Regions from separate parts of the Homo sapiens genome. Here region 1 is linked to region 2. The links are contacts of gene promoters, found by promoter capture Hi-C in blood cells and fetal thymus (Javierre and others, 2016). All regions are on one chromosome and are shown on one strand. Each heading gives the region's core, a stretch centred on a gene start or on the middle of the fragment in contact. The rest is flanking DNA. Distances are from core to core; before and after follow the strand shown. Region 1 overlaps TENM3 (teneurin transmembrane protein 3). Region 2 holds the start of WWC2-AS1 (WWC2 antisense RNA 1).

Region 1 (3,156 bases), core at 527-3,026, 760 kb before region 2:
ATTCTGTAAAAACAAATAAACGGATGGAATTATAAAGTCTTTTTCCCTGAAGTGTTGCCTGCACGTTTAGAAAATAAATGTATTTAGAAAAGACAAAAGTAAAGAATAGTTATTTTTTTTCACATAATCTATTAATATATTGTATTCTTCCTTGGGTATGATGGATAGCAACAGGAAGTATTTGATTATAGTTTCAAAAATTGTATCAACAGTATTCTGTTTTGAGAATTACGATCTATATTATTGTAGAATTTTAAAAGTGGTTTTCCAGATATCACATTTTTAATCTCTCTGAGCTGTGTGGAAGATTCACTTATTTTGGTCATGCTAAGCTTCCTTAGTGAAATTGGCACTAAAAATAAAACCAATAATAATAATTTAACAAGTAAAATCTTGAGTGGAGTCTAGAATTTTACAGTAATTTAGCAAGATATCTTAAGTTTCACTCTCCCAGTCTTTCAAACTGAAGCCTTTTGCAAATATAGCTGCTGGAGGCTCTTGGTATCGTTAATTGTTTGCTAAAATATCCTAGAAACACAGCAGGCCAGTTTTCTAATGATGTTTTTCAAAATCACAATTTCCTTTTGCCAAAGTGTGAAAGAATTGTTTTTGAAATACAGTTTTTAAGTTTGCTTGTAGGCCTTAAGTAACTAATATATTAACACATTTGCTTTAAATTCATATATATGCATATATATTTAATTTTAAAAAGTGTCTTCGTAAAGATGAAAAGTTAAAATTTGGTTCTAATTCTATTTGGAACTCTGTATCTTTGAAAACAGTACTATTTAATGAACAATTGGTTGTATCATTTTAATTTTTCTTTTTTTTGAAAAATCAAAGCATATAGATATTTTATGAAATTTTCTTAGGCTTCTTGTATTTTAACTCTGAATTTATGTGGTGGATCTCTAGACACAATATGAATTTTCTGTCAATGACTAAAATATGGTTTTATTATGTCAAATCTGAACTGACATATTTTTAGGCAATTGTTTCAGGGAACAGAGAATTGGGTATTTGATTTTGAGATATACGGAGTCATTTTATTGAGTTTGAAAGGCACAAGTAGTTGAGAGAGTTTCCTTTTTTTCTGTTAAATACTAGTCTATTTGAAGAGTCGTTTTCTTTTCTTTCTTTCTTTCTTTTTTAATATAATCCTCTTATCTATTGCTTGGGGTTAGAAGTTGAGAAATTGCATTTTGCCAAAGTGAATAATTGAGAATTTGTAACACAGACTCTGAAAAATAATTCAGAGAGAGGCCAAGAGAGTTTCTATAACAAGTCGTAAATATATTTTTTAAAGAAACAGACTGAAAAACTAATTTCTAAATCAAGATTTAAATGTAACAATAAACAAGGAGTTAAAGAGAAAGTCCAGATATAAACCTAAAAGTTAAATCGCTTTTCTTTATCTTGAACTTTGTGACAATAAAGAAGACACCTCATTTTCTCTTTTACTTTACCTTGACTTTTCTGAAATTCTTATGAAATAAGTATAGCTCCTGTTAGTTATCTGTTTTAAACAATCTTTTGTGCTTAAAGATTCATTATTCAGTAGGGTAAATCCTCACCTTTACACTTACGTTGAGATTTTTTTAAAATTATTTTTCTACTTTAAAATATGATTATAGGCCGGGCACGGTGGCTCACACCTGTAATCCCAGCACTTTGGGAGGCCGAAGCAGACGGATTGCCTGAGCTCAGGCGTTCACGACCGGCCTGAGCAACACGGTGAAACCCCGTCTCTACTAAAATACACAAAATTAGCCAGGCATGGCTGTGTGCACCTGTAGTCCCAGCTACTGGGAAGGCTGAGGCAGGAGAATTGTTTGAGCCCAGGAGGCAAGGGTTTCAGTGAGCCGAGATGGTGCCACTGCACTGCAGCCTGGGCAACAGAGTGAGACTCTTGTCTCAAAAATCAATCACTCACTCAATACAATAAAATACAATACAATTATAATTTACTTCTAACAATAACTTAATGATTTTTTGCTTTATATCAAAATTTAAGAAGTGATATTTTCTTTGTTACTTTCTTTCATTTCTGGTTATTGTAATGGAAGGCAAAATATGACATACCAAAGAAGTAAATTTCTCTAGACAGTGCACAACACTGAAGTAAATGCAGATACTGTATCTTAATTGAGTATATTTAAATGCAATGTTAATTAAACTTATACTTCAGTTTTTACCTATGAACCTAAAACAAAAGCCACCAATTATACATTGAATTTTATTAAATATTGTATCTATAACTTATAAAAATAATGTAAATTCAGTGATTTTCATTGAGACATGCTGACCTAGAATCACTCACTGAAAAATAGGTTTTGAAGGGTAACTCTTATTTTACTATAAATACGTTTGGCTTAATTACAATAATGCTTTTCAATTTATGGTTCCTTTTCTTTCAAAATAAGGATAAAGTAAACCTAGTTATTAATATGCTTATATCTATATTGTAGATTTTTTGTATGTTCCTATGAACATAATACATACATTGATTTTATTTGCCTTTTAATAACATGGGCAGAATGTAATGTGGAAGGTACCACCACTAATTGTGATTTTAAAAAAATTACCCTTCAGTGTAATCCTGCAACTATTATTGTGGAATATATCAATATGATTAAATTTTGGCATTGCAGAACAGAATCTTCACTGCACTGTAGGTTAGAATACAAGAAAAATTGAAAATAAAATGAGAAAATTTCTTTCTTAACCTTTTGCAATTTTAGTATAATTTTGCTAACCTGTGAAAATGTCTACACATAGGCATTGTCTTGTACATGGCAAGACAGCATTGTCTCTGACACACCTGCATTATTTGAGATGTATGCATTCATGTCAGTTCTTTTCAGAAACAGTAGGTAGGTATTACACAGGAATATGGTCTATTTTTATGGCCTTCTCCCATAAGATGCCTTCTTTGTAACATATCACAGTGTACTTAAAAGAGGTCATTAAAATTAAAAAGATCCAAGGAAGCAGTTACGAGTGTAGACCTTCAATATATGAATTAATTTTGGATTTCAGATTCCTTTTAGATTTGTTTTAGCTCTCTACATGTCATATACTTAAAGTTTTCATTGAAATTAAGAATATTACCCAAATTTTCATATTGCTTTAGGAATATTTACAGGAAAAGAAAAA
Region 2 (2,831 bases), core at 293-2,792:
ATCGCTTGAGCCCTGGAGTTCGAGACCAGCCTGGGCAACATGGTCAAACCCCATCTCTACTAAAAACACAAAAACTAGCCAGGCGTGGTGGCGGGCGCCTGTAATCCCAGCTACTCTGGATGCTGAGGCATGAGAATCGCTTGAACCCGGGAGGCGGAGTTGCAGTGAGCCGAGATTGCACCACCGCACTCCAGCCTGGTCGACAGAGCAAGACTCTGTCTCAAAAAAAAAACAAACAAACAACAGAAAAAAACTTAAGGCTCTAACTTAATATATGGAAGTAAGTTTCTAACCCTTGTGAGAAGACCTTTATTAGTTTGTGACTAAACCAGGCGTGTGCTGCTTTTCTGATCTGTCCAATTTTAGAATTGTTATTACCAAAGTATATATTTGACAACAGGAAAAATATATTTTATCAGTTTGACAACAAATATTTATTGATCATCTGCTGTTTGCTTGGCATGGTTGTAGATGCTTGGGATACAGCTGGTGGGTTGCAGCTTACTTTCCCACGGAGGACAGACAGTGTACACGGAGAATTTCAGCTCCTGAAAAATACTCTGGTCTAAATAAAACAGAGCCGTGGCAGGGGCAGGGGGGCTAGAGAAGTCCTATTTGAAAAGATAACATTTCAGCTAGCATTGGAGGGACAGGGAGTCAACTGCGGGAGATCTGGGGAGAGCTTTCCAGGCAGAAGGAACTGCCAGGACATCTGAGGAACGGAGGGGTGGGCAGTGGCCCTTGGCACAGTGAATGAAGGAAAAACACACACTTTTATAGAGATGCCATGACTTGGAGTTCTTATTCTGCCCATTTTGGTTGGAGACAATGATGATGTCCAGCTCATAAGAATGTTGCTAAGTAAGGTAATGAAGGTAAATAGTAGTAATAATACACATCACTGATAGTTTTAAACATCATTAATATGCCTTCCACAGAATTTATGTGAAGGAGAAACTGATAAAGTAAATGTTACTTTAACTCATGGCTTTGTTTATGTGTTTGTTTACTAATTTATTATCTTTTAAAACTGTAGACTGTGTTGCTAATTATCTGCAAACATTAATGTTTATGTTGATTTCTCTTTAAAGGTTAAAAAGCTAAAGAGAGAGCTCTCACAGATGAAGCAGGAACTGCTCTATAAAGAACAAGGCTTTGAAACATTGCAGCAGTGAGTATGAAAAGACTGAATCAACTTTAGAATAAGCTCCCTAACTAGTATGAATACAAAGAAAATAGAAGTACAGATTACATAAGCGATTTCTTAAAGAAACGTAAAGTAAAAAAGTTCAGAGCTCTACACCAAAAGAAAATAAAGCAATCAACCAACAGATAAAAAAACTTGGGAAAGATCTATGCACTTGAAAAGATCCAAAGTTTTTATTAATCATTGGAGATCCAAAGAAACCAAAGTGAAAAGCCTTTGTCTTACCTTTATCTCCTGGACCCTTGCTGGCCTCCTCTGAGATTGTGGTACAGAGCTAAGAGACTAGGCACAAGAAATTCCTCTCCACATTCGGCTGGGCTGGCTGTACTTGACCCCTGTGTGAGCCTGCAGCTGCCCTGGGCCCTTGGGTGGAGGCGTGTCTGTCTCTCTCTCTCTCTCTGCCAGCCCCAGGGATGACCTAGAGTCTAACCCTGACAGATGGCAGGGGAGCAAGAGCAAGTTAGGATTATTAGCAAAGGAGCGGGAGTGCGCTCCTCACTTCCTGGTTCCTCTACCTTTCCCGTTTGCTACTGAAGTTGGCTGGGCCGTTAGCAGAGCCCTAAGCTGGGCCAGGTAAAGTGGAAATGGAGGTGACAGAGGGTCACAGGATGAGGATATCCCTTCCGCATTCCCGGCCCCTGAAAGCCACTGTTCTCCCTGCTGCTGAGGCCCAGCCTATCCAAACCGTGACAGGCACACCTGAGACTTTCTAATCCTGCAGTCTCCACTCCACAGGGCCTCTCATGGGAGAGAAGCAGTCCATGGTTTTCACAGCCACATGACCACGGAGAGGAGTTAAAACTTCCCTCCTGCTTGGTGCCTCCAAGTGCGGTGCAGTATTTTTAGGGATGTCCCTGGTCAGTTTTGTGTTCAGGCAGGTTTCGTGTTCTTCCCGGCATCTCCCGTGGTAGCACCTCAGGAATGCCAAGCTGGTCTCAGGCGCCACCTCTGTGGAAAGTACCCAGCTGTGTTCCTTTTCCCTGTGGAATCTTACTTTACCTTCTGCTCTTATTTGGGATGCTCCAAGCAGCAAGCCCCTTTAAAGATCCTGTGTGTCACTGGCCAGATAAACAAACTGGTTGTTCTTGTTTGGGTGATTAGTCATATCTTGGGATACGCAGGCACTGCTCTTGACCACCAGTCAGACGCATGACTTTAATTTCACACGTGCTGTTATCATCCAGACTCCTTTTTTCCTGCTTACCGCATAGAATCATGACCCTGATACTCCTTCAGATGCTCCCATCCTAGTGGTTCTCAAACCTGACTGCATATTAGAATAATCTGGAGAGTGCTTAGAAAAATAATGTTTCTAGTCTCTATGCCAGGTATATTTTATGAGATCCCAAGTGCTTCTCAAGTCCAGCCCTGTTGTAAGAACCTCAGCTGGTTGCAGAGCTCCCCGATAAACCAGGCAGAACTAGAATGACATAAATGCATTATTTAGTAATTGTTTATCAGCATAAAGCAGGGCTTCGTGGTGGGGGTGGGGAGAGAAAACAGAGTTTGAAGAGTGCCGTAACGTGTTTAGCCATATGTTCCACATTTTTAAGGCACATGAAATTATAACTCGCGTCACCATTTGGGATTAAAGGTTAGCCAAACTTGCTGTCTTTGTTATATT

What was found. The method cuts DNA at HindIII sites, captures the fragments that hold promoters and counts their contacts. A CHiCAGO score of 5 or more calls a contact.
Region 1: a fragment that was not itself captured here is called in contact with the fragment with the promoter of WWC2-AS1 in region 2 in 1 of 17 cell types (M2 macrophages); the score reaches 5.6 in M2 macrophages.

The regions. Positions count from the first base shown.
Region 1 is chr4:182,479,880-182,483,035 of GRCh38, forward strand. The region is part of intron 3 of TENM3 (teneurin transmembrane protein 3); the gene reads left to right. Among named protein-coding and RNA genes, the nearest start is that of TENM3, 240 kb to the left of the region's middle. The HindIII fragment of the contact is 2,892 bases long and covers 331-3,156 here.
Region 2 is chr4:183,239,092-183,241,922 of GRCh38, forward strand. WWC2-AS1 (WWC2 antisense RNA 1) reads right to left here and starts at 1,543. Exons shown (of 2, transcript NR_126473.1): 1 at 1,433-1,543. It overlaps WWC2 (WW and C2 domain containing 2), which reads left to right. Exons shown (of 23, transcript NM_024949.6): 5 at 1,092-1,171. The HindIII fragment of the contact is 11,540 bases long and covers 1-2,831 here.